7 separate regions of the Homo sapiens genome follow, and all the other regions are linked to region 6. The links are contacts of gene promoters, found by promoter capture Hi-C in blood cells and fetal thymus (Javierre and others, 2016). All regions are on one chromosome and are shown on one strand. Each heading gives the region's core, a stretch centred on a gene start or on the middle of the fragment in contact. The rest is flanking DNA. Distances are from core to core; before and after follow the strand shown.

What was found. Contacts are between HindIII fragments. The CHiCAGO score rates a contact against its expected background, and 5 or more counts as called.
Region 1: a fragment that was not itself captured here is called in contact with the fragment with the promoter of STK38L in region 6 in 3 of 17 cell types (neutrophils, naive CD8 T cells and M2 macrophages); the score reaches 7.2 in neutrophils.
Region 2: a fragment that was not itself captured here is called in contact with the fragment with the promoter of STK38L in region 6 in 10 of 17 cell types (neutrophils, naive CD4 T cells, activated CD4 T cells and 7 more); the score reaches 11.8 in neutrophils.
Region 3: a fragment that was not itself captured here is called in contact with the fragment with the promoter of STK38L in region 6 in 1 of 17 cell types (neutrophils); the score reaches 6.7 in neutrophils.
Region 4: a contact is called between a fragment that was not itself captured here and the fragment with the promoter of STK38L in region 6, in 2 of 17 cell types (neutrophils and monocytes). The highest score is 6.0, in neutrophils.
Region 5: a fragment that was not itself captured here is called in contact with the fragment with the promoter of STK38L in region 6 in 2 of 17 cell types (neutrophils and total CD8 T cells); the score reaches 5.9 in neutrophils.
Region 7: a contact is called between the fragment with the promoter of MRPS35 here and the fragment with the promoter of STK38L in region 6, in 4 of 17 cell types (fetal thymus, total CD8 T cells, naive CD8 T cells and 1 more). The highest score is 6.5, in fetal thymus.

The regions. Positions count from the first base shown.
Region 1 is chr12:26,910,026-26,913,847 of GRCh38, forward strand. INTS13 (integrator complex subunit 13) reads right to left here. Exons shown (of 17, transcript NM_018164.3): 14 at 3,432-3,662; 15 at 1,153-1,292. Among named protein-coding and RNA genes, the nearest start is that of INTS13, 26 kb to the right of the region's middle. The HindIII fragment of the contact is 9,163 bases long and covers 1-3,822 here.
Region 2 is chr12:26,841,653-26,845,532 of GRCh38, forward strand. No RefSeq gene overlaps it. Among named protein-coding and RNA genes, the nearest start is that of ITPR2, 10 kb to the left of the region's middle. RefSeq lists a silencer at 3,424-3,718. The HindIII fragment of the contact is 5,050 bases long and covers 1-3,880 here.
Region 3 is chr12:26,891,415-26,895,458 of GRCh38, forward strand. No RefSeq gene overlaps it. Among named protein-coding and RNA genes, the nearest start is that of INTS13, 45 kb to the right of the region's middle. The HindIII fragment of the contact is 5,632 bases long and covers 1-4,044 here.
Region 4 is chr12:26,955,018-26,958,816 of GRCh38, forward strand. It overlaps FGFR1OP2 (FGFR1 oncogene partner 2), which reads left to right. Exons shown (of 7, transcript NM_015633.3): 3 at 1,526-1,643; 4 at 2,584-2,726. Among named protein-coding and RNA genes, the nearest start is that of FGFR1OP2, 18 kb to the left of the region's middle. The HindIII fragment of the contact is 1,309 bases long and covers 904-2,212 here.
Region 5 is chr12:26,864,117-26,867,886 of GRCh38, forward strand. No RefSeq gene overlaps it. Among named protein-coding and RNA genes, the nearest start is that of ITPR2, 33 kb to the left of the region's middle. The HindIII fragment of the contact is 2,252 bases long and covers 529-2,780 here.
Region 6 is chr12:27,241,830-27,245,679 of GRCh38, forward strand. STK38L (serine/threonine kinase 38 like) reads left to right here and starts at 2,457. Exons shown (of 14, transcript NM_015000.4): 1 at 2,457-2,503. RefSeq lists enhancers at 1,168-1,227, 3,816-3,850 and a silencer at 2,286-2,525. The HindIII fragment of the contact is 3,512 bases long and covers 1,263-3,850 here.
Region 7 is chr12:27,709,239-27,712,803 of GRCh38, forward strand. MRPS35 (mitochondrial ribosomal protein S35) reads left to right here and starts at 1,594. Exons shown (of 8, transcript NM_021821.4): 1 at 1,594-1,717. The coding sequence starts at 1,606. MRPS35-DT (MRPS35 divergent transcript) reads right to left here and starts at 1,509. Exons shown (of 5, transcript XR_001749448.2): 1 at 1,425-1,509. RefSeq lists enhancers at 1,025-1,104, 1,135-1,214, 1,225-2,014. The HindIII fragment of the contact is 2,856 bases long and covers 1-1,949 here.

The DNA.
Region 1 (3,822 bases), core at 915-3,414, 330 kb before region 6:
ATTTCAGGAGCTGCCAATCCCAAATCATATCCTTGGTGCCTAGAATTCCTTCAAGAGGAAACTAAACTTTTTAGCCTATAAGAGATTAAGAGGCTTTACAGTGAAAATATTGTTTATAATAATAACTACACTGAAACTCAAACACATTTTAATATAGCAATAAATGAGTGATATTACATATTTCTAGGTTTCGTAAGAGTTTAGGGTCAAAAGAGTTTGTATTCAATATCTCAGCTCTTACTATAGTATCAGGAACATAAACAGATTCAAGTTTACATATTTAAAATTTCTTAAAACACAAACTTTATATGCTTATTTTCCAAAGGCTTCATTAATGAAAGTATAACACTACTTGTTTTTGTTTTTAACACTGACAAATATATTTACTGCCTGTATTCTCTAAGGCTGTGATACGGTTTGGCTGTGTCCCCACCCAAATTTCCATGCTGTTCTCGTGATAGTGAGTGAGTTCTCACTAGATCTGATAGTTTTATAAGGGGCTTCCTCTCCCTTTGCTCTGCCCTTCCCCTGGCTGCTGCCATGTGAAGAAGGACATGTTTGCTTCTCCTTCTGCCATGCCTGTAAGTTTCCTGAGGCCTCCCAGCCATGCTGGAACTGTGAGTCAATTAAACCTCTTTCCTTTAAAAATTACCCAGTCTTGGGTATTTTTATCTTTATTAGCAGCATAAGACTGGACTAATACAGGTTGTAAACAGAGAATGTCCTAAACAACACCCACAAATACTTAAGAACTCTTCCTCACATACACAACAATATTAAATAACACTGTACAAAACAGAGCTTCATTGGAAAATTTTTTTTTTTTCTGAAACAGAGTCTTGCTCTGTCGCCCAGGCTGAAGTGCAATGGTGCGATCTTGGCTCACTGCAACCTCCGCCTCCCAGGTGCAAGCGACTCTCTAGCCTCAGCCTCCCAAGTAGCTGGGATTACAGGTGTGTGTCACCATGCCCGCCTAATTTTGTATTTTTATTAGAGGTGGGGTTTCACCATGCTGGCCAGGCTGGTCTTGAATTCCTGACCTCAGGTGATCTGCTTGCCTCAGCCTCCCAAAGTGCTGGGATTACAGGGGTAAGCCACCACACCCGGCCTGGAAAACTTTTTATAAACCTAGTTACCACAGCTGTACCTTACCTTTTGATTTTTCCACTTGTGGAGTTTCATCCATTTCAACAAGGGGTTTTTTGTTTGGAGGTTCTGGGGAATCAGGCGAATCTTTTATAATCTCAGCTTCAGCCAATTCTTCTTTTCCACGCTCTAAGATTCCTTTTAATCTTTTAGAGGGACAAATAATGAAATGTAAAGTTCAAATTTTTAGAAGTCTAATGGTCTAATAATTAAACTAACTTTGCATATCAACCTTTATAAAAGATGGCTAATCTCATAAAATAAACCTAGGGACTAATCAAAAATCTCAATCTAAAACCAGGTAACAGAAATTAATGAATTAAATACAAGTTTCCCTTTTCCTTCATAATAATAATGCAATGATTCAGGAATTAGCTGTAAAATATAAAAAAAAAGAAGATACTTAAATTAAAATTTAAAAGGTAGGAAATGATGTGATCTTCAGAAGAAATTGCACAATTCTGATTTTTAAAGATAGGAACAAAATAACACTGAATTTCAAATTACAAATAAGATTAATAAGTTTATTCCCATTTATTCTCTAGTCTATGTATTGTGTAGATGTATTTATGTTCTGCAAATCAGAAACTTAACTCTAAACTTTTAGAGTTTCATCAGAGAACAAAAACACTTGCAAAATATACAAGAGTGTACTTGAAGCTCAGTGGGACCTAAATGATAGTACTTTTTCCCTCTTACAGTGAGCCAGTAGTGTTTCAGAAGCTCAGCAGCCCTAAGGAAAACATGAGCTTCTAAAGTCAAAGAGAATAAAAGTATTCTATTATTAATGGATACAATTACAGGATTTCCAGAATTAGCTTCAAAATATTCCTATGGGTGTAGTGGTAAAGGTAGTGGATGAAGATATATATGAAATGAGATCTGCCATGAATTGTTAATCATTGAAGGTAGATGATGAGTAACTATCTGTTCTTTTGCTACATATGTTTGAAATTTTCCATCATAAAAAGATGTGTTTTTCGTCAGTCGCAGTGGCTCATGCCTGTAATCCCAAGCACTTTGGGAGACCAAGATGGGCAGATCGCCTGAGGTCAGGAGATCGAGACCAGCCTGGGCAACATGGTGAAACTCCATCTCTACTACAAATACAAAAAATTGGCCAGGCATGGTGGCACATACCTATAATCCCAGCTACCTGAGAGGCTAAGGCATGAGAATCACTTGAACCCAGGAGGCAGAGGCTGCAGTGAGTCGAGATCATGCCACTGCATTCCAGCCTGGGTGATAGAGCGAGACTCTGTCTCAAAAAAATAAATAAAAATTAATTAATTTTAAAAAAAGTGACCTGGTGTTGGTCTGATTTCTGGCAAGTGGATAGAGGATATAGCCAGAGGATACGCTATTTCTATTTATAAGCCTTTATTACTTTTATGTTTTTCAGATTTAACGCTGACATCATAATATAAATCACAAACTAAAGGAAAAGAGTATACTATTAAGAAACATTTTCAGAATAGACTGTATGCCCTTCTTCTGTGCTTCCAAGGACATCCTATGCCTATTTTTATAATAGCACCTTCCACACTTTGCTGCAATCACTTTTTTTTTTTTTTGAGACAAAGTCTTACTCTATTGCCCAGGCTGGAGTGCAGTGGAGGAATCTCGGCTCACAGCAACCTCTGCCTCCCAGGTTCACGTGATTCTCGTGCCTCAGCCCCTTGAGTAGCTGAGATTACAGGCATGCACCCCCATACCCAGCTGATTTTTGTATTTTTTTAAGTAGAGACAGGATTTTGCCATGTTGGCCAGGCTGGTCTCAAACTCCTGACCTCAAGTGATCCACCCGCCTCGGCCTCCCAAAGTGCTGGGATTACAGGTGTGAACCACTGCACCCAGCCTGCAATCACTAATTTGTCTGTCTCTAGCATCACACTGTATGTTCTTCAAGGGTAGGGATCTTGTGCCAAATGCCTGGCACATCATAAGCATTCAGTAAATATTTAGTGAACAGAGGAATAAAATTATGTCTGTGAAGTTCACAACACATAAAGCACATACTGATACCAAACATCATGCATTATGATTTTCAGAAGTTAATTAGGAAAAACTAACACTAACTTTGCCCCAACAGTAAAAATTCATACTTTTTTGTGCCCAAGAAAGATCCTCTAGATTTTAAGAATGATAAAATTACAGTAATGAAAATGAATAAACATGTATTAAATGAACTACTATTAAATCAGGTTTGAATGTATGAAAGTGTTCTATGCAGAATGTGATATAACAAAAGGCACCATGGTGCTATATCAATGCCAGGAAGTCACCTCTCTGAGTCTTGCCAAGACTTTTCCTGTTCATAATCTTTCACTGCTTTCTCTGACTTGTCCTCTTTGTCTTCCCTCTTTCTTCCTCGTTTCTTTCGTTCTTCCTCTTCTGGGGGTTTGCTCCTGCATGCCATCAGACATTCCAAGACTCTTTGATGTTTCTCTGAGTTGTTGATATGGGCTCTGACAAGGGTTTCTAATTCATTCCACATGATACGGTATTGTTCATCTCTGCAGCAAAGATTTGGAAATACTCTTTAAATAATATTGAAGTGTCACTTTCTAGTGGTAAAGTAAAAACAAATAATGAAATGTGGACTTCCTTCCTCTTACTTGGTACTTAATAGTGAAATTCTAGGCTACAATATATCCATTTCTATGATTTTGTATT
Region 2 (3,880 bases), core at 874-3,373, 400 kb before region 6:
ATATATTATTTGAGGGTCACAGTTCTTAGAAGTATTTACACTACTTGCTGCTGAATCGCTTATGGCTTGATCTGACCCTAATGTCATAATTCTGTAAGGGCTTGGAAATGAAAAAGAGGAGAGGTGTTGTAATTAGAAGTATTTTATGAAGAACTGATACAACTGATACCATTTGGTTCTAAGAACCATGATCAATTAGAGCTGAGAATCATCAAAATATTGAAGAAAAGAGAAAATGGCCCAGTCTCTATAACAGAAAAGAATGGGGAGTTTTAAGAAAAAAATGAGCCAGTCACTGTGGTTCACACCTGTAATTCCAGTTCTCTGGGAGGCCAAAGTAGGCGGATTGCTTGAGCCCAGGAGACCAACCTGGGCTGCATGGCGAAACCCCATCTCCACCAAAAATACAAAAATTAGCCAGGCGTGGTGGTGCATGCCTATAGTCCCAGCTACTCAGGAGGCTGAGGCGTGAACCCGGGAGACAGAGATTGCAGTGAGCCAAAATCACGCCTCTGTGCTCCAGACTGGACGGCAGAGTAAGACCCTGTCTCAAAAAAAAGTATGCATATCTAAAATCTTGCCTACTTCAATTTGCAGTGATTCTTCCCCAAATACAATTTAATGTTCCCATGTAGATGTCAGAAAGCATTTATCAGGCACTTAAATGAATCCCATACCTGTATGCCACAATAGTTAAGGACACAAGTATTGCATAGACCTGGGATGAGTTACTAATTCACAATTTACTCTCTACCAGGCTTTATGCAAATACATAACCTCTGGGGCCTCGTTTTACTTATCTGTAAAATGAGGACAATAATGGTATCTATCTCATGTGGTCTTTGTGAGGTTTAAATTAGAAGTTACATTTAAGGGGCTTGATGTGGTGCCTGGCATAAAGTGCTTAATAACCTTTCATGTTTTTTGTTTTGTTTTGCTGTTTTTTAGAGAGAGGATCTCACTCTGTCATCCAGGCTGAAGTGCAGTGGTGCAGTCATAGCTCACTGCATCCCAGAATTCCAGGGTCAAGCAATCCTTTGGCTTCAGCCTCTCAAGGAGCTAGGACTACAAGGCATAAACCACCACATCCAACTTCAATAAATATTAGCTATTATTATGATTATGATTATCTGTGAGAAAAGCAGCATGAAATGTCATAAGAAAACCAAGCATCAGAGGTGTTTCTGTCTATGCAATAAGACATGCCAGTGACTGAGCCCACACCAGAGCTGTCTCCAGAGCCTCTGGGCCACCAGCTCTGCCATTTACAGATCAATCCCTTCCATCAACTGTAGCGAATTCTTTTTTTGTTGTTTTTTGTTTTTGTTTTTTGTTTTTTGTTTTAAGATGAGTCTTGCTCTGTCGCCTAGGCTGGAGGGTAGTGGTGCCATCTCAGCTCACTGCAACCTCCGCCTCCCAGGTTAAAGTGATTCTCCTGCCTCAGCCTCTGGAATAGCTGGGATTACAGGCCCCCACCACCATACCCAGCTATTTTTTGTATTTTTAGTAGAGACCAGGTATTGCATGTTGGTCAGGCTGGTCTTGCACTCCTGGCCTCAAGTGATCTACCCGCCTCTGCCTCCCAAAGTTCTGGGATTACAAGCATGAGCCACACTGAGCCAGGGCAAAATTCTTGATAATTATTAAATTTTTCTTTTTCAAGGAATTTGAATTTTTTAAAAAATATGTGTAAGAGAAAGAAATCAATTTTTTTAACAGACACGTTTCAGACATCAGGGAAAAGCAAATTTTGAGACAAAAGAAACAAAATGGCTAAATTTCCAGCCTGGTGCTATAAAACCACCCACAATTGTCACATGAGAACTCTGCTTTCCACAAGCTGACAGCTTTTTATCTCTTCAAAGAAGGTAGCGGATAAAACCCACAGAGAAAACTGCCATCTAACACCAGAGAATGCTGCCATGCTTGTGGTTCCTGATTTTTGGGAAGACATAATACTTTGGTTGGGCAAAACCAGGGAGAATAAATCCAGGGAAAACTTCCTGGAGTCCTTTTTCTCACCCCTGTGATTCCCCCAAGTTTACCTTTGTTTTCTCTCATTTATGAATCTAGTTTGAAATGCAGTAATGTGGGTCTACTTTAGTGCATTATTTCGGATGTATACATCCTGATTACCCAACTAATTAGCATCAATTTGTTTAAGGCAAGAACTCTGAGTTGTACTTTTTGTTTCAGAGTGAACACCTAGATGTGAAGGAAGCTGTTTTGTACCTGTTTTTTGTACCTATAGGCACAGTACCACAGTCTACAGTCCTGATTATTTGTAAGAACTCAATATATAAAAAAGAAAGTATAAGAAATCAATGGGAAAGCATGAGATTATACAAGAAATGATGTTATTTACTTACATGGAGAATACTAGTTTAGCAGTTTTAAGCTATCACGTATCTTAAAAATAAATCCAGGGCCAGGTGCAGTGACTCACGCCTGTAACCCCAGCACTTTGGGAGGCCAAGGTGGAAGGATCACTTGAGGTCAGGAGTTTGAGACCAGTCTAGGCAACATAGCCAGACCCCATCTTAAAAAAAAAAAAATTTAATTTAAAAAATTTTAAAAACTACATCCATAGTCCCAGTTACTCAGAGGCTGAGACAGGAAGATCTCTTTAGCTCAGGAGTTTGAGGCTTCAGTGAGACATGATGGTGCCACTGCACTCCAGCCTGGGTGACACAGTGAGACCTTGTCTCAAAAATAAATTAATTAATTTTATATTTAATGACTTAATGTATTCATCTGAATTCAAAATTCACCAAAATAAAGGGAATTGAATATTTACCATCTTAAGAACAGGGGATACCTATGCTTAGAAATACATATGCATTAATATAAAAACATAAAGCAAATTATGAAGTAAGTTTAATTCTTACAACTTTAAATTTTTATGTAAAAATTCTAACACCAGTAAGGGAAGGGGAAAGGGTGAGTGAAGGGAACAAAAAGCGATATAAATGTGTTTACTACCACTGAACTGCATACTTAAAATGGTAAAGATGGTAAATTATATATGTATTTTTTCTTCTATTTTTAAAATGTAACAAAAAACTCAACTGAAAGTAAAACAACAAAGTGGGAATAGTTTGCAACAAATATTATAGGCAAAAGGTTGGTTATAGGCAAAAAAATAAAAGTAATATAATAGTGAGATATCATTTCTCATGCATTAGATTAGCAAAATAAAAGTTTTTAGTTATTGTAACCAATGCTGTTAGTCAAACAGCCAATATCATATTTTGTACAACCATTTTAATGGCAATGTGGACATATGGAATATAACCTAAAGAAATAATCCTATGTATGAAAAGTGCTTTATTCACAATTATGTTTATCATAGTAATAATAATAAGCATGGAGAAGAAAATAAATATTGAACAGTAGCAAATTAGTGATTACACTGTAGCAGCTGCCAGGGAGTATAGTAAGCAATTCTTACTAAGAATATGTAATAATATGTAAAATGATTTATATGATGACTTTATTTTTATTTTTTTATTTTTTTTTATTTTTTTGAAACGAAGTTTTGCTCGTCGCCCCGGCTGGAGTGCAGTGGCACGGTCTTGACTCACTGCAACCTCCGCCCCCTGGAGGCCACAATTTCTCCATTCCCAGTTGTCCGGGATATTTTCTCCTAGAGTTGTTCCATAATTGCCTGTGTCTCTGATACTAGGGATTCTTAATATATGTCATATACTCAGCCTCCTGAGTAGCTGGGATTACAGGCACCCACCACCACGCCCAGCTAATTTTTGTATTTTTAGTAGAGACAGACAGGGTTTCACGTTAGCCAGGCTGGTCTCGAGCTCCTGACCTCAGGTGATCCACCCACCTCAGCCTCCCAAAGTGCTGGGATTAAAGGTGTGAG
Region 3 (4,044 bases), core at 1,221-3,720, 350 kb before region 6:
AATTCGCTACAGGAAATGTCCTTGACTACAAACCTTGAATATTCTGCTGCTTTTGCTGAAGTCACTCCTTCGATGGTACTAATGGCTACTGCATTCACAGATTTTGACTTCCTTCAGGGTAGAACTTCTACAGTGTCAATGTCAGTAGAAAATCTAGACTCTCCAGAGTGGGAACTAAAAGGACACACCCTAATCCACGGGACAGAAATACAAAAGCACACTATTTTACCCGACCTTGTCTCAGAATCAATTAGTCAAGCCGGGTATTCACAAGCTCTCCTTTCATTATCCAAGTACTCTCATTTTCTTAAGCCCTCAGTAATGCAGGATATAGCCATGCCTTCAGAAGTACTGTCTTCAATGACAACATTTCTCAGCAAATGGAGTGGCTCTGTTCCAGTCGACTGGGAAAAATCTGTACATTCACCTGACAGTCTCTTGACACCTACAGCATCAGCAAGGGAGACACTGGCAGCCTCCCATTTTCCCCTTGAGTTCAGTCAAGTACTCCTGTCAAATCAGCTAAGTCAACAGCACCTTCATGAGCATAATCACACATCTGACACTCCTGAAGTTTCTCAACAGATTCATTCATTCATCATTCCTACAGAAATAATTTCAGCTCCTGGCATGAGCATAAATACAAAATTTGTATGGAATAGTACATCTGACTCAACTCTTTTGCCCATGGAAACTGATTGTTTCATCAGCAAACTCGTAGATGAAGGCTCATTGTGTGATGGTGATGTGATTATCAAAACTCAGTCATATTCTAAGGAGACCCCATCATTTACTCAATTACATGACTTATCTGAACTGTCCCTTTCTGAGGTGTCTAAATTTTCAAATGCATTTGAGTTACCTGAAAATATGGGCTCAAAAACTATGATGCATATTCTTAGTGACTGGTTCTGAGGCACAGAACATTTAGCTTTCAGTGGATTCTCAAGAACTAGCCAGATTTTGCCAGGCAATACAGTACTTAACTTGGATTCTACTGACATGTTTATAAGTTACCCACATACCTCCAAAAACGTATTAACAGCAAGATACAGGACTATCTCTGACTTTAATAAGGTACAAGGTAAGATTGTGGGAGTTGTTGAGCTTTCTCTTTGCCATATTTTTCAGAGAATATTTATACTAACAAGCAGCAACCAACTAAATAATTAAAACAGAGTAACCTAGTGGTAACCGTGTGATGAAATTACATGTGCTTGATTTTCTTCTCTACATTTGTCTATATTTTCCAACTTTTTCAAGGAATAGAGTTGTTTTTAGGAAGAAAAAACTTTAAGAATATATCATGTAAGAAAAGTCAACAACAGGCCGGGTGTGGTGTTTCATACCTGTAATCCCAGCACTCTGGGAGGCCAAGGCAGGAGGATCACCTGAGGTCAGGAGTTTGAGACCAGCCCGGCCAACATGGTGAAACCCCGTCTCTACTAAAAGTACAAAAAATTAGCCAGGCGTGGTGGCAGGTGCCTGTAATCCCAGCTACTCCGGAGGATCAGGCAAGAGAATCGCTTGAACCCGGGAGGCAGAGGTTGCAGTGAGCTGAGATCGCGCCATTGCACTCTAACCTGGGCAACAAGTGCGAAACTCCATCTCAAAAAAAAAAAAAAGAAAAGTCAATAACAAAATACAGTACCCATCTTATGCCTTATACACATTATTTAATGTGTATTGTGTTTACAATAGATTGATCAAAGACTCACAAACCTGGAAGGAGCTTCAAGCCATTACTCTGTCCAGTTATTATTATTCCTAAATCATTCATCTGTTGCAGTCTTTATTTTATTTTTGAGACGGAGTTTCGCTCTTGTTGCCCAGGCTGGAGTGCAATGGTGTGATCTTGGCTCACTGCAACCTCTGCCTCCCGGGTTCAAACAATTCTCCTGCCTCAGCTTCCCGAGTAGCTGGAATTACAGGCATCCACCACCAAGCCTGGCTAATTTTTTTTGTATTATTAGTAGAGATGGGGTTTCACCATGTTGGCCAGGGTGGTCTCAAACTCCTGACCTCAGGTGATCCATCTGCCTCGGCCTCCCAGAGTGCTGGGATTATGGCGTGAGCCACCGTGCCTGGCCCTGTTGCAGTCTTACAGACCACCAGAGTTAGAAAAATGCTTGCTAACAGATTCAAACTCTATAACTAAAGTTAAAACCATCCTCTTTCATTTAGTTTATTTATCTCATGATATACTGCAAACAGGCAGTATGATGATTAATAACTCAGTATCTATAGTGAAACGGGTTTGAAATCTAGCTGTATAATTTACTATATGTGTAATATTAGGTATTCACATTAGTATATTACTTCTATCATTTATAAACTGAGGATAATTATTCCAATATATTTGTTGTGAAGATAAAATGAAGTATGTACTTAGCACAGTGCCTGGCACATGGTTCATTAAATGCAAGCTATCATCTCTGCTCATCTTCTCTTCTCTGAACTAGCTAACTCATATCAGAGTGATTGCTTTAGAATTTGTTTCAAATCAAAACATACTTGTATGGTAATTTCCATGGAAATTTTCATTGATCTTTAATTTGGGGGAGATTTCCTTGTTTAAATTAAATGTCTAAATTAAGGGCCAGGTGTGGTGGCACACACCTGAATCCTAGCACTTTGGGAGGCTGAGGCAGGAAGATTGCTTGAGCCCATGAAACTGCGACCAGCCTGGGCAACATAGTGAGAGCCTGTCTCTACAAAAACAAACAAAAATTTAAAAATTAAAAAAAATAGCAGGCGTAGTGGCGCATGACTGTAGTCCCAACTACTCAGGAGGCTGAGGGGGAGGATCACTTGAGCCTGGGAGGTTGAGGCTGCAGTGAGCCATGACTGTGCCACTGCACTCCAGCCTGGGCAACAGAGTGAGACCCTGTCTCAAAAAACAAAAACAAAACAACAACAACAACAAAGGGGTTCCTTTGGAGTAACTACAAAGTTTACAGAAATATTAGACAAGGTACAACCAGTTTGCCTGTCACTAAATATGACTGGCTTCAAGTAACATAGATGCTGAGAACATGTGCTCTGCATTCTGAATCTCAGAAACCTGAGACCACGTCACACCCAGGTAAGCAATTCTATCATCATGGAATGGTAAGGCTGATGGACCTTGATGCTGTTTGAAATTCAGTAGAAACAGATCTCCCTAGTAGTTACGACTTACATTGTTAATCAATCCCATTAAATATGCAACAGTACTTAGATGTCACTTTCAAATAGTCTATTTATCAAGTGACTGCACTACTCTATCTTCTTGATTCATTGAGTTTTTTTCAGTAGCGTGATACTCTTCTTTCCAACTTAATGCTCCCCACAATATCTAAAGCCACCTGCCTTTGTTATATTGCACCATAGCCCCATTTTTGTGATGTTATCTCATCTTCCTCAGAAAACACCAAAATGTATCTATGCAGAGCTTGAAATGTTTTGTAGTTTGAGATTTAAATGTTAATTGAAATTGGAGTACTAGTTTGTTGCTATGATTCTGTTCAATTATGTAACTTACGTGTACCATTATCTAACTTATATGTACTGATCTTAAAACTTTTCCTGGGCCGGGTGCGGTGGCTCACGCCTGTAATCCCAGCACTTTGGGAGGCCGAGGTGGGCAGATCACGAGGTCAGGAGATCGAGACCATCCTGGCTAACACGGTGAAACCCCGTCTCTACTAAAAATACAAAAAAAAAAAAAAAAAATTAGCTGGGCGTGGTGGCGGGCACCTGTAGTCCCAACTACTCGGGAGGCTGAGGCAGGAGAATGGCGTGAACTCGGGAGGCAGAGCTTGCAGTGACCGAGATCATGCCACTGCACTCCAGCCTGGGTGACAGAGCGAGACTCCATCTCAAAAAAAAAAACAAAAAACTTTTCCTGTTCAACTTTCAACCAAAAAACAAAAAAATCAGTTTAAGAATTTAGGCTGTTTGCCAAAATATTGTTTTTCTGAAGTCCCCTAAACCAGATTTGATTAGTTAGTAATACTAATATCTTTGTGTATATGTGTGTGTATATATACATCTTTGTGTGTA
Region 4 (3,799 bases), core at 308-2,807, 290 kb before region 6:
TTTTAACAAAGCTACTGGAAATAGTGGAGCAAGTTTAGTTATTTGGTTTTACAACTGTGTTGCCCTAAACAGATTTACCTGCATCCCTAACCAACTGTCCAGCTAGACTCAGGCACTTCAGTGAACATATATCTGGTATTGAGTTGTTAAAAAAGGAGTTTGACATCTGAAGTTAAGAACCAGGAGTGTTATAATGAATATGTTACTAAGTGTCTCATGAGAATGCCTTGAAAATAAATAAGTGCAATTTTAAAATAAGATTCTCATTTTCTTAATGGAAAATCTTTTTGCATTTCTTTTGTACATGTTCTATTAAGATATTCACATACCATAAAATTTACTTTTTTGAAGGGTACAGTTCATTGGATTTTAGTACACATTTGCAGGTTATGCAGTATAACCACTACCTGATTCCAGAACATTTTCATCACCACAAAACCTTACATCCATCAGTGGTCTCTCTCTAGTTTCCCCTTTCCTCAGTCTCTGGCAACCACTAATATTTCTATCTCTTTGAATTTGCCTATTCTGGACATTTCATATAAATGGAATGATAAAATATGCGGCTTTTTGTGATTGGCTTCTTAACATAATGTTTTTAAGGTTCATCTATGTTATAGCATGTATCAGTACTTCATTCCTGTTTATTGCCAAATAATATTGCATTGTAAGGATACAGCACATTGTGCTTATCCATTCATCAGCTGATAGGCATTTGGATTATTTTACTTTTTTGGCTGGTAAGAATATGCTGCTATGAATATTTGTGTACAAGTTTCTGTGTGGACATATGTTTTCAGTTTTCTTGGGTATATATGTAGAAGTAGAATGGATGGGTCATATAATAACTCTGTTAAAATTTTTTGAGGATCTGCCACATTGTTTCCCAAAGCAGCTATGCCAAGCTTGTCCGACCTGTGACTTGCTGGCTGCATATGGCCCAGGATGGCTTTGATTGCGGCCCAGCACAAATTCACAAACTTTCTTAAAACATTATGAGATTTTTTTTTTTTAAAAAAAAGCTCATCAGCTATCGTTAGCATTAGTGTATTTTATGTGCAGCGTGATAATTCTTCTTCCGATGTGCCCAGGGAAGCCAAAAGATTGGACACCCCTGAACTACATCATTTTACATTCCATCAACAATGTATGGAAGGTTGCAGTTTCTTCACATCCTCTCCAACAATTGTTATTGTCTTTTTCATTACAGTCATCCTCGTGGGATATATTGAATTGCATTCTCCTAATGACTAGTTAGGTTAATTAAGTATCTTTTCATGTGCTTATTGGCCATTTGTATATCTTCTTTAGATAAATGTTTATTCAAATCCTTTGCCACTTTTAAAAATGGGGTTATTTTCATTTTATTGTTGAGTTGTAAGTGTTCTTTATATATTCTGGATACTAAGCTCTTATCAGATTTTTTATATGTATATTTCAGATATATTTATATTTATATATCATATATATATATATATATATATTTGCAGGTATTTTCATCCCACATGTTTTTCTCCCCCATTAGTATCAGGAAGAAATTCAAGAACTTAATGAAGTCGCGAGACATCGGCCACGGTCCACGTTAGTTATGGGAATCCAGCAAGAAAACAGACAAATCAGAGAGTTGCAACAAGAAAACAAAGGTAAGATACGTTACTTTTTGACATTAATCCCATTTCTAGTCTATATTCCTAAATCGTATTTATTGCTCTTTATCCTGTCCCACATATGAACATCTGCCTGGTTGACATCCTCTTAGATTCTCACCCTTAATATCCAGTTAGCACTGCTGTTGTTAGCTATGAAATAACCCAGCTTCATTCTCTGCAGTCCCACTGCATTGGCCCCCAGATTAGATGCTCAGTCTCTTGCCTGAAATGTCCAAACTGATCTCCCTGATTCCAGTCTCTCTTCCCCCTTCCAATCTGTCTTCAACATAACCATCAGATTGATATTTCAAAAATCAGTCTGATCATGTAATTCTTTTGCCTAAGAACTTTCATTATATACTTATTACCTTTTACAGGGTCCCTAAAAATCATTTCCCAGCCTTTTTTTTAAATCTTCTTCCCACAGCTTTCTTCACTGTGAACTCTTTGCTCTTGCCAACACCAATCACTTCCTAAACACGTCATCTGTTTTCATGCCTACCTGCTTAGAAGGTCCATTCCTTCACTTTTCAACTGAGGGAACTCACACTGTACTTCTACAAAGCTTCCACCAGTTTCTTCCCATAGACATCTCTTAAATCTATTTGACTTAACACTCCACTCTGCCACCTACCACATGCTTGTTTTCTCTACTAGACTCTTGAGGTCTGTGGCCCTTAATATAGAGGGAGCCTTGGCCGATATTAATTGCTGTTTAGTACATCTTTGTTGAAATGATTCTCAAGAAACAAGCTTAAAATATTCAAAAAACTAATACGGGACTTCATTTGGTGTCTCTTATTGTTATATGGCTAGATTTTTGTGCATTGTGTTTTCTTTTTAAAATGTCCCGTTCATAAGTTGCTTAGTGGAAGAGAATATTTTGTGTACTTTTAACTCAAGTTGGAATAAAATACAATATTATTCTTGATAGAATTACGTACATCTCTGGAAGAACATCAGTCGGCCTTGGAACTTATAATGAGCAAGTACCGAGAACAAATGTTTAGATTGCTAATGGCTAGCAAAAAAGATGATCCGGGTATAATAATGAAGTTAAAAGAGCAGCACTCCAAGGTAATCCATTCTATAAATGTGACCTGAAATGGAAAAGAGAGACGATTGATTATTCTGTGTTCAGATTTTTTTTGAAAAAAATCACAGGTATCTAGTAATGGCATTTTAACATGATGTTGAATGTTTCATCTTTTTAATTGACATTTTCTCCTTTTTCTTATTTTTCCATTTCTTGTTATATATCATTTTCTGTTTGATTTATAAACTCTCACTGTTTCTTAGAAACTTTAATTTGTACGTTGAAAAATAAATTTTATTTTGGATATAAAGGTAAGTCTGGTCTCTTCAACATTATTTTTGTAGGGCTATATACTTTTAAGAAATATTTCTTAAAGGGCTGGGCATGGTGGCTTACGCCTATAATCCCAGCACTTTGGGAGGCCAAGGCAGGAGGATCACTTGAGGCCAGAAGTTCAAGACCAGCCTGGGCAACATAGCATGACTCCATCTCTTCAAAAAGTAAAAAAATTAGCCGGGTGTGGTAGCACATGCCTGCAGTCCTAGCTTCTCAGGAGGCTGAGGTGGATAGACCACTTCAGCTCAGGAGTTTGAGGTTACATTGAGCTACGATCATGCCATTGCACTCCCATCTAGACAACCGAGTGAGACCCTGTCTCTTAAAAAACAGAAATTTTTTTAAGAAACATTTTTTCTAATAAATTTGTGTATTGACTTCTCTTGCAAAAACAAAAAATAATGGAAACCTTTTTTAAAATCTGAAAGCAGTTTAATGTAGATTTTTCTTAAGACTGTTTTCTGAATAAGGCTAATTCATCCAGACTATAAATGATCTTGTTTATTATAATGGAAAAAACATGGGGTTCAGGAGAAGAACCAACATAGTAAAATTTTGCTCCCTTGCCCCAGTATTGTATACCAGTTGACATCATTTTTTAGAAACAAAGCTGAAGTAGTTAGAAATTAGTGTTTTACCTGCTGTTCATCCCTTTGTCATCCCTGTGTCTATTCCCTTTGGTATGTCCCCATATTTTATGGCATATTTTATGGCAACTGCTATGAAGACAAGTAGAATAATCCTTTCTCACATATTTATTTTAAACTGAGTTTTAGTT
Region 5 (3,770 bases), core at 405-2,904, 380 kb before region 6:
CTCGAACTCCTGACCTCAGGTGATCCTCCTGCCTTGGCCTCCCAAAGTACTGGGATTACAGGCATGAACCACCGCACCTGGCCTATGATGGTGTTTTTAAGCTGCCAATCATGACTCATCAGTGAATTGTGAAGTCAATTTACTGGATTTCGACCAGTATTTTTTTTAAAGAAAGAATAGAACAGAATAGAAACTTTCAGAGCACATTCTACATAGTAAGTAAGTGTTGTTTTATGACATGTTATTTTCAATTCTCTGTATGTAAATATATGTGTTGTAAGTTGCAACAGAAATCTATTTCTTACGGTAGTGTTCAAGAATTTTGAGGGCCACAGCTTCATAAGAAATCCAAAGTGGCTCTTCTTAGAAGGCTAGTCCCTTTTCCAGTATCTACAGGGAATAATCAGATCCAGGAGACCCAGTCTTCCCATTTTCCTCTATCTCTGGTTGACATGAGATTTCCTAAAGATTCAGATATCTAGACAGGGAGGATGATCAGCAGTGCATCCACCAACCAGCTGAGAAGTAAGCTTCCCTGGACATAGTGCTCAGAGTACTATGGCATCACATGAGAGGACCTCAAGGAGAACATAAGGAACACAGATGACAGGAAATTAGGACACAGGGCAGGAGTGAAGAGGACATGTGTATGAAGCCTTAGGTTGCCAGCCATGTTTATAAGCAGCATGAATCAGAACAAAGATGAGAAGTAGGCTGACCATTTCTGCAGTGTAACTCATCAAAAATCTGCAGAGACAGTTGAAGTTAGTGGTTGGGTGTTTGGGCCCAGCAGCATAACCCTCTGGGATCTAATCCCTGTTCTCCTCTTACTAGTTTGTCTATTATTGGGAATGTTAACATCTCTGAGCCTTATTTCCATCATCTCTCTCTATATATATTTATATATAATATATAACTATACCACACATATATATAAATATATATATATATATATATATATATATATTTTTTTTTTTTTTTTTGACAGAGTCTTACTCTGTCACCTAGGCTGGAGTGCAGCAGGGCAATCACAGCTCACTGCAGCCTCAAACTCCTGGGTTCAAATGACCCTCCCACCTCAGCCTCCTGGGTAGCTGGGACTATAGGTGTGCACCACCACGTCTGGCTAATTTTTAAAACATTTTTTTTTGTAGAGACAGGGTCTCACTATTTTGCCCAGGCTGGTCTCAAACTCCTGAGCTCAAGTGATCCTCCCACCTCGGACTCCCAAAGTGCTGGGATTACAGGTGTGAGCCACCACACCCAGCCTCTATCATCCATAAATTGGAAAGAAAAGGGTTATTATCTCATAGGATTTTTATGATTATTTAATGAGTCAATGCATGTGAAGAAGTTACATTGCTTCTGGCATATAGTAATGATTCAATGAAAGTACTTGTTATTTTTTGAGAGATTTTGGAGATGAGAGGGAGAGTAAGAGCAATAAGATTATGAAATGAGATAAAATACAATGACTCTCACAATATAATTACAATATTTTTGTTAAAAAGATATGACTCGGTATATGACAGCCCTGAAACTACTTTCAACATTTTCTTCTCTGGTAAAGATGTCAGTTTCTCATCACACTGGCTTGGTTGAAGTTACCTTCATGCATTTCATGATTTGCAGAGATCAAGGAGAAATTAATATTAAATCAAAAAATTCAAATATTAATTTTAAAAAATACTTGTTTTTTAAAAATCTAATCTAAACCTCCCTTACTTTAAAATTGTCTGCCTAGGTGTGTTTCTTACATTTGGAGACACTCTAAGAGACACCAGTTATCTAGGGCAGGGAGGGTCCAGGCAATTAGATCAAGAAAAGTACAGGAAAGAGTGTGGGCTGCAGGGGTGGGAGGGTAGCTACCTGTTGAGGATGAATTGATGCCAGGAGACATGTAGTTCCCAAAGGTGGGCCCCAGATTCCAGAGAAGGGCAATTGGGTGAATACCTCACGGAAGCCCTACTTTTCTGGCAGGCACATGAGTCTACAGGGGAGAACTGTTGTAAAATTACAGCCTGCAATTTAGAAGTAATCCCCCCATTAAGGATAACTTTGCCTTTCCACCAGAACTCAGGGACAACTAAAATGTAAATGGTGATAATGTATTGTCAGACCCCAACAGACATGTTTTTTTTCCTTACCTCCCAAGGTAAGAGAGTAGAGACAATGCATACTTTTAATCTCTTTTTTCTATCTCCTCTATCCTACTCTCCTTCCCAAGTTCACCCTTTTTCTTTTTATTTTTTTAAAGACAAGGTCTCACTCTGTTGCCCAGGCTGGAGTGCAGTGGCACTATCATAGCTCACTGCAACCTCAAATTCCTGGACTCCAGCAACCCTCCCACTTCAGCCTCCCCAGTAGCTGGGATTACAGGCATGAGCCACCACATGCAGCTCTCTCACCCTTTTTCTTCATAGAAACTGTTGTCTGCCTAACATTAAAGGTGTACTTTAGCTGGGTGTGGTGGCTGATATCTGTAATTCCAACACTTTGGTAGGCTGAGGTGGTAGGACTGCTTGAGCCCAGGAGTTTGAAACCAGCCTGGGCAACTTAGTGAGGCTCCTGTCTCTATATAAAAAAAAAAAAAAATTTTAATTAGCCAGGTGGGGTGGCACACGCCTATGGTCCCAGCTACTCAGGAGGCCGGAGTGGGAGGATTGTTTGAGCCTGGGAGGTTGAGGCTGCAGTGAGCTATGTTCATACCATTGCACTCCAGCTTGGGAAACTGAGCAAGACCCTGTCTCAAAAAGGAGGAAAAAAAGTGTACTTTAGTAAGCTTGCTAAGCATTAATTTCTAATTAAGATTTTATTTAGAAATAAAGTTTTATTACAATAAAACTTAATTAGAAATAAAATAATAAACCATAAAAGACTATCTTAAGACTTTACTTCTTTAATATAAGAAGAGCTTATTCCAATGGTTTTATTTATCTTGATTGAAGTTTGTATCTTTTTCACAAAAGAGTGTTTTTTAGTATCTCCTTTCCACACAATGCTTGTATTTTTTATCAGTTGGCTTGCCTCAATTGGATTCAACCCAGGAGGGTACCTTTTTTTTTTTTTTTGCAGAAGTTGCTCAAACTGAGTACTGACTCCTCTCACACGGAAACCACAAGTGTCAGTTTTTCTTAACTTGAAACAAAATTATTCTCCCCGTCTTACCAGCAGTTTTCCAACACTTGCTAGTTTGTGATCTTTCTGTTTCATAAACTTGACCATCTTAGTTATCAACTGACTGAACTGGCCAAGCCCTACCAATGTCACCTGTGTCTATCATGAGTAATTTCTGTTTAGGGCCTACTATTTACAGGGACCTTTTAAACAGATGAATAAAGCCTTTTTCTCTATCACTAGGATCTCTGTCACCGGTGGGAAAAATTTTAAGACACACATGTGTTTTGTTAACTTAAAAAAACATGTAATTTATAATTTAGAAAGGAGACTATTTCTTGTAAAGAATTACAGCCTGCTAATATCCGGAATCTACAAAGAACTTAAACAAATTTACAAGAAAAAAAAAAACAACCCCATCAAAAAGTGGGTGAAGGATGTGAACAGACACTTTTCAAAAGAAGATAATTTATGCAGCCAACAAACATATGAAAAAAAGCTCATCATCACTGGTCATTAGAGAAATGCAAATCAAAACCACAATGAGATACCATCTCATGCCAGTTAGAATGGCAATCATTAAAAGTCAGGAAACAACAGGTGCTGGAGAGGATGTGGAGAAATAGGAACGCTTTTACACTGTTGGTGGGAGT
Region 6 (3,850 bases), core at 1,207-3,706:
TTATATATATTACATATTATGTAATTTTTTCACTAAACTCAAACTGAAAATTAGCATTTCTTCCATCATGAATGTAGGCAGCAAACCACAGGAATATTAGCAATACCTGTGACTTTTCCTCAATAGGAATCACACATATTTTCTACCCCATTAAAGTTGTTGTAGATATCTCAAAATATTGTTTCTGTGTATCATTACTACAAAATTACTGTAGGTCTTGATCTTATTATTTAATGCATTAATAAAGAGGCAAATATATAACTATTTTAGTTATCTATGGCAGTGTAACATAGTATCCCAAAAGTTAGTGGCTTAAAACCACAAATATTTATTGTCTCACAGTTTCTGTGGGCCAGAAATCTGGGCTTGGCTAGTTGGGCCTGCTGGCTCAGTATCTGGTTTTACAAGGCTGCAGTCTAGGTGTCAGGTGGGGCTGCAGTCATCTCAAGGCTCAACTGGGAAAGAATCTACTTCCAAGCTTACTTACATGATTATTGGCAGTATTCAGTTCATCACAGGTTGTTGGACTGGGGGCCTGAATTCCTTGGTGGCTGTTGACTGGATCTCTCTCAGTTCCTTGCCATGTGGGCTTCTCTGTAAGGCAGGTCACAAGACAGCAGCTGGCTTCCATGAAAGCGAGCAAGTGAGAGAGCAAGGACAAGCAAGATGGAGCCCAGAATATTTTTGTAACCTAATCACGGAAATGATATCCTAATCACTTTTGCTATATTTCCTTTTTAAGAACTAAGTTACTAGAGAAGGGAATTACAGAAGGCAGGAATACTAGAAGGCGTGGATCATTGGCAGCCATCTTAGATGCTACTACTACTTACCACATAATTATATTACAAACTCACTTTTTAGTATTTTGGTAACTGTATGTTAACATTATCAATTTCCTTTGTAACCCTAGGTAGTTTATGCATTTAAGAACACTGTTTTGAAAAGGGGTCCATAGACCACCAAAATTCTGGTTCATAGCTCTAATTTGTTTCAGTTGAGGTACTTTCAACAACTTCCCAGGGAAATTTGTTTACAATGGTCTCAATTTAGGAGAATTTAGGAACTAGAGGTCAAAGTCTTAGGCTATCCCATATTAACCTAGACTGCTACTCTATACTAGTTCATATTACTCTAGTATGGCACATTTGAAGACATAAATTTGCTGTGGAACAAACCATACACTGTTCTCAATCTTATCGTAGCATTTGAATGGTATGTGTATGCGTGCAGTACAGGGAGAAGGGTGTATAGGCCTGTCAAGCTTGTCTGATCACAATTAAACCTCCTATGCTTGTATATGACAACTGTCATTTGAGTTTCAAAATGACCATATAAGTGGAGCTGATCTCCCCAAAAATACACTAATTACCAAACTAGAGCTTTTCCCACTACTAAGCTATGTATGAAAAAGCACAGTGTAAGAAAGAGAAATGAGGTAATGCTTCTTTCCTAGGTGTTTTGCTCGTGTCACCTGCTCTTGGGAAACCTAAAGATGACAGGTGGCATTTCTAAGTGATAGTTTTTGCAAGCACAGTACCAGCTTCATACGTTGTCTCAGTAAGCTAAAAGCTAAGAATATTTTATAAGACCTCCAATACTCATATTGAGGATAAACTTGCCAACAATAATTGGGAGTCATTCTCTCATTTGGCTTTCCCAAAGGCCAGTTTTGTCCCCAGACGCAAATTGCATCAACCTTCCCAAAGTTGTCCCTTTTGGGTCATCCTATAGGGGAGTGCTCTTCTGCACAATTCTCAGATCCTACTGATAAAGCAGGCCAGTACTGTAGTTATTTTAGATTTTCCAAGAAAACTCAAACAGGTTTTTAATGTATTTTTTGTGGCATTTACAAATCCTGGTTCCTCTCCAGTCTCTGGAGTCCCCTCATGGTGAAATGGAAGCGTCAAGGAACCTGGGTGGCTTCGAGTCCCCACAGCTACCGACTGAGCAACTTAGCTGATCCATCTTTGTTGACAACTGTTTCCCAATCTGAAAAATGCGTGAATTCTCTCTTTCCATTTCTAACATTCTTTGCATTGCACTGTTTGAAAAATTCGGATGACATTTAGAATGTGACTAATGTCGCAACACATTAGGCCACTCTCAAGAGAGGCCTGAACAGGTTTGGCGTAAAAACGGCAGTGAGGTGAGGCTGGTGAGAGGGGAAGTGGCGACAGTTCAGTCAACTCCCTCAAAACCAGTCTGGCCTTCACCAGGCGGAGATGGGTGGGGCCGGGAAGACGGGCGTTGACGACAGAAGGCTACTTCCGGCTGTGGTGCGTATGACGTCAGGGCGAGTCGGACCGACCCAGCCACCGAGAAGCCGAGGAGGCAAGGCTCGCGAGAGTTCAGGGAGGCCGCCCTGAGATTCCGGCGAGGCCGCGGGTCCCACCTCCCGGGGGCGGGGCGAGGGCGGAGCGGGGAGAAGGGAGCTGACGGGCGCCCGGCCGGCTGCGGTCCGTGCGGAGGCTGAGCCGGCCGCGGGCGCGACCGGAGGCAGGTGAGTTCGCGGATGTAGCGCTCGGCTGAGGGCCCGAGCTCGCCGCGCCAGCCCCAACTCTGCGAGCAGGAGCAGGAGGAGATTTTAGGTGTCTTTGGGTGTCCAGGGAAAGCCGGGCTAATTCTGGGGCTGGAAATGTCTCCGGGGAACCTGCGGCGACGGCCTTGGCCCTCTTATTCCCCGGGGTGATACTGGCCCCATGTGTCCAGAGAGGGAGCCTCGCACCCGGGGAGGAATCTTTGTCCTCTGCTCCTTTCTCCTTCCACTCCCCGGCCCCCGAGCACTCCGCTCCGGGTCCCCGCCTGGGCTTCACAAACAATAACAAATGTCGCGGATCCTCTCCGGGTAGCCCCAGCGCTCCCGTCCCGTGCCCTCCAGCCGATGTCACCCAGAGCCAGGATCCGAAGCATGGCTCTTCAATTGTGGGGGCTGTTTGTGTACCGTTCCTAAAAACTGATGCGTCAGATTGCCAAACATTTCTCAAGACAGACTCAGGAAAGCCTCCCAGCTCCTAGAAGCCACGGAGTGCTCAAAACCAGTCTTAGAATCTGTCTTTACCATTGCACCCGTAGCCCCTTCCTTTCAAAATCATTTCTCCCACTCCTTTTTTCACCTTTAGTATCGAGGTCGAACGAGTGGTTATTTGGTGTGGGAGTAGAAAAGAGTATAACCGATTGAGTAGGGCACGTTTCACCTTTAAAAAGTTGCCAGGTTGACAGCAAAAGAACAAACTTTATTTTCAAAACCAGTGGCCTCCCCTTTTACTGGTGCTGCTTTTGTTTTGTGGAATAGCTTTTCGGGTTCTAAGTTTGGAGGAATGATATAAAAAGAAGTGGGAGGTGGGGGGAGGGCTAGTGGCTCTGGAAGTAGTGGCTTGTCCAAAAGTAGGATGCTATTGTTTCTCACTTGATAAAATGCAGAACCAACACTTTTACCCATTTCACATAACTTGTGATAAGTTTTGAGAGAAGCCACTTAATCGGAAATGGCCTATTAGCTTATTTTACTGCTCAAATCTGAAAAAACAGCTTTAAGTGATTTAAGTTCTGCCTCTTGATTGTAAGATGGGGATTGATGAGTGAGACCTTGTCTTTTTTGGCGCTGGGGCTTACGTTTGACCGGTCTCTCTACTTTAAGGCAGGGCCTATTGTACTTAAGCCCATTTTTGCTTCCTCAGTACAGATTCTTGAAAGTTCTTTGTCTCAATCATATATGTATATAAGGTACTGTAAACCTCTTTGAATTTGATTGGCCTTTCTCTCTGTGCCTCAGGATATGTAAAACAATTAAGTTTATTATACTCTCTCCCCAGTGGCTGAGAGGTATTGTATGTGAATTAGCCACCCT
Region 7 (3,565 bases), core at 344-2,843, 470 kb after region 6:
CTGGTTGTATGCTTACCAAGAATCGGTTTTGTTTATTTTTAGTTGTTTTTACTGTTATAATTTTGTCACTTTGAGACAAAATAGGGAAATAGGCCAGACCCATGCCTGTAATCCCGACATTTTGGGAGGCCAAGGCAGGAGGATCACATGAAGCCAAGAGTTTGGGACCAGCCTGGACAACATAGCAAGACCCCCAACTCTACAAAAAACTTAAAAATAGAAAAAATAGGCCAGGTGCAGTAGCTCACGCCTGTAGTCCTATCACTTTTTTGGGAGGCCAAGGCAGGAGGATCGCTTGAACCCAAGAGTTTGAGACCAGCCCTGGCAACACTGTGAGACCTCATCTCTGGAAAAACAATTTTTTTTTTAATTAGCTGGGTGTGGTGGTGCGTGCCTGTAGCCTCAGCTACTTGAAAGGCTGAGGTAGGAGGATCACTTGAGCCTGGGAGGTCAAGGCTGCAGTGGGCCATGGTCCTGCTACCACATTCCAGCCTAGCAACAGAGCAAGACTCTGTCTCAAAAATAATAATAATTAATTAATTAATTAAAATAATTTTTAAAATAAAGAGAAAATAGAGAATTTATTTTATTTTATTTTATTTTTGAGGCGGAGTTTTGCTTTTATTGCCCAGGCTGGAGTGCAATGGCGCGATCTCGGCTCATCGCAACCTCTGCCTCCCGGGTTCATGCGATTCTTCTCTCGAGTAGCTGGGATTACAGGCATGTGCCACCACACCCGGCTAATTTTGTATTTTTAGTAGAGACCAGGTTTCTCCATGTTGGTCAGGCTGGTCCCAAACTCCTGACCTCAGGTGATCCACCCGCCTCGGGATCCCAAAGTGCTGGGATTACAGGCGCGAGCCACCGCGTCCGGCCGAGAATTGTTTTATTAAGGCTTGTATGTTAATTCATCCTACCGTAGAAAATTTAAGAGTGTTCATTAAAAGTTTATTTTCTAGGTCCTGATGAGTTCTGACTTTCTGTAATTCTAAGCTGATCTAACAACAAGCTAACCATATATAGCTAAAAGTTATAGGCTACGTACACGCGGTGTTCACTGTATGCCAACGCTGTACACAAATATTTGTCTATGCTAACTTGTCTGAGATCATACATCCCAGAAGTGGTGAAGTCAAGTTTGAAACCCAAGCACTCTGGCTCGGGATACTGCTTCTCTCCCCTTAGCGCATATTACTGGCATTAGTTGAAGACTTCTTTAATCCAAGTAAATGTAGAAAAGCAACAATTATAAATAACAAGAGTCCCTCGGGTAGACCGCCTGACTCTCGGATCAACTGAGGTTCCACCCAGAGCACGCCCGCCTTCAGTGAGCCGCAACCCCTATCCCTACGGTCTTTATCTGCAATTCTCTACGAACTGATTCACTCGATTTTTAAGGATTTTTTTTGTTTTCTTTTCATTACTTCTTTCAGTTTGGGGGAATCTTCCTGCACATTTGACTCGGCTCTGAGTGCGCAGACCAACGTGTTTCCTCTTTCTCCAGCCTAGGGCGGTGCCAGCCCAGGGAGCCTGCGCTTAGCGGCCCCAGGCCCGCCCCTGACACTGAACGCCGCTTGTCCCCTCCGGCTTGCCGTCCTCGCAGCCATGGCGGCCGCCGCGCTCCCAGCATGGCTGTCTCTGCAGTCGAGGGCAAGGACTCTGCGTGCATTCTCCACTGCCGTCTACTCGGCCACTCCGGTCCCGACACCTAGCCTGCGTGAGTGTCTGTCTCGTCTTCTCTGGGCTTTGGGGGAGGTGCAAGAGCGGAATACCGGCCTCATGAAGGGTGCCGCGGTGGCTGAGCCAGCGCCGCCCGGGGGAGGCCAGTGCGTCCGCTGCCAGGCCCGTCTGGTAGGAAAACCATGGACGTGGGTCTGTGCTCTGCACCCGCGTTGCCCGGCTTCTAGCCGCCTGTTTCTGCCCTGGGTGCTCTGGGAGTTTGCTCAGAAAGCTTACATCCCCCTTCCCCGTGACCTGCTCCTGTGTTGCCCCCGTCCACAGCCCCTGGCACAGGTTACTGGTGCTGTGTTGTTTATCGGGCATCGGCGCTGTTGAACCATGGATTTCCCCAAACATTAAGAGAGTCATACGGCTGTGCTAGGACAAATTGCTGCTCTGAATTCCAGGCCACCAAATGGGCGGCCTTCATTCAACAGGCGTTGATGACCTCCATTTAACAGAGATTGTAGGGATGCTTGATAGCGTGCTTACCCCGGAGGACTCTAGTGGAAAATACAGATTTATTAGCGGAGAAGTGCTATGTAGGGTGAGAGGCGCTGTGATAGAAGTGTGGCTAGAATGACGGGAGCGTTGAGGAGGAGCTGGCGTGAGTCTAATCAATAGGCGGATCCTACCTGTGCTACTTCCTGTTATATCTCTAATTTACTCTCCTCATACTACCAACTATCTAGTTCAGGTGACCATCTCATTTCTACAAGTTTTTTTTCCGTTTCCTGTTTCCCCTCTTGCTCTCCTACATTGAATTCTCAAAACAGCCAAATGAGGTTTTCAAAATTTAGATCTTGTCTTGCTGCTCTCATGTTCAAGATCTACAAATGGTTTCCCATTGTTTTCAGATAAACTATAAATACATTAATCCTTCATACTGGCTCTTCATAGGTCTAATAATTGTCTATTTTTAAATTTTCATTCTTAAATTCTTGGAATACTTAACTCCTATTGTATACCATGCAGTGTTCTAGACACTCACCGGAGATACGGCAAGGTGGGGAAGTCAATAGTATAAACAACCAAACAACTAAATAAGATGTCAGATAGGGTTTAATGCTTTGAAGAAAAATAAAGTAGAGTATTGAGAATGATGGATTTGGGGGGAGTAGTGGCCACAGGATGGTCAGGAAAGATCTTTCTGAGGAAGTGACATTTGAACAGGGCCCCAAGCCATGCAGAGATATGGGGAAAGAGCCTTTGGGGTATGGGGAACTATAAGTGCAAAGGCCAAAAGTTGAGAACAATCTGAGGGGTGTGATCAAGGAACGGGAAGAAGGACAATGTGGCAGGAGCTAAGTGTGAGTAGAGGAGAGAGTGGTAGTATAAGACGTCAGAGAGTTAGTTAAGTAATAATCTGATCTCTCAAGAGTTTGTAGACATTTCATTTGGATTTTTGGCTTGGGTTTTATATTGAAAGGCTTGGAACAGGGAACTGATATAATGTGATTTACGTTTTTAAAAGATCACTGGCTGCTTTACTGGGGTAAGAGTGGAAGCCAAAGATCTGTTTGGAGGCTGTTGCAGTAATCCAAATGAGGTGATGGTGACTTGGATTAAAGTAATAGTGGAGAAGGAGGTGTGGTTGTATTTGCGATATATTTTGAAGGTAAAGTTCATAGGATTTACTGATGGATTTGATGTGGGGCTTGAGGACAAGTCTCAAAAAAATCCTGTTACATTTTTGTTCTGAGCAATTGGATGAATGATGATTCCATGTACACGAATTGGGAAGACTGGAAGAAGAAAATCAAAAGCCCTGCCAAGGGGCTGAGTGTGGGGGCTCATTCCTGTAATCCCAGCACTGTGGGAGGTCGAGGCCTGCGGATCCCTTGAG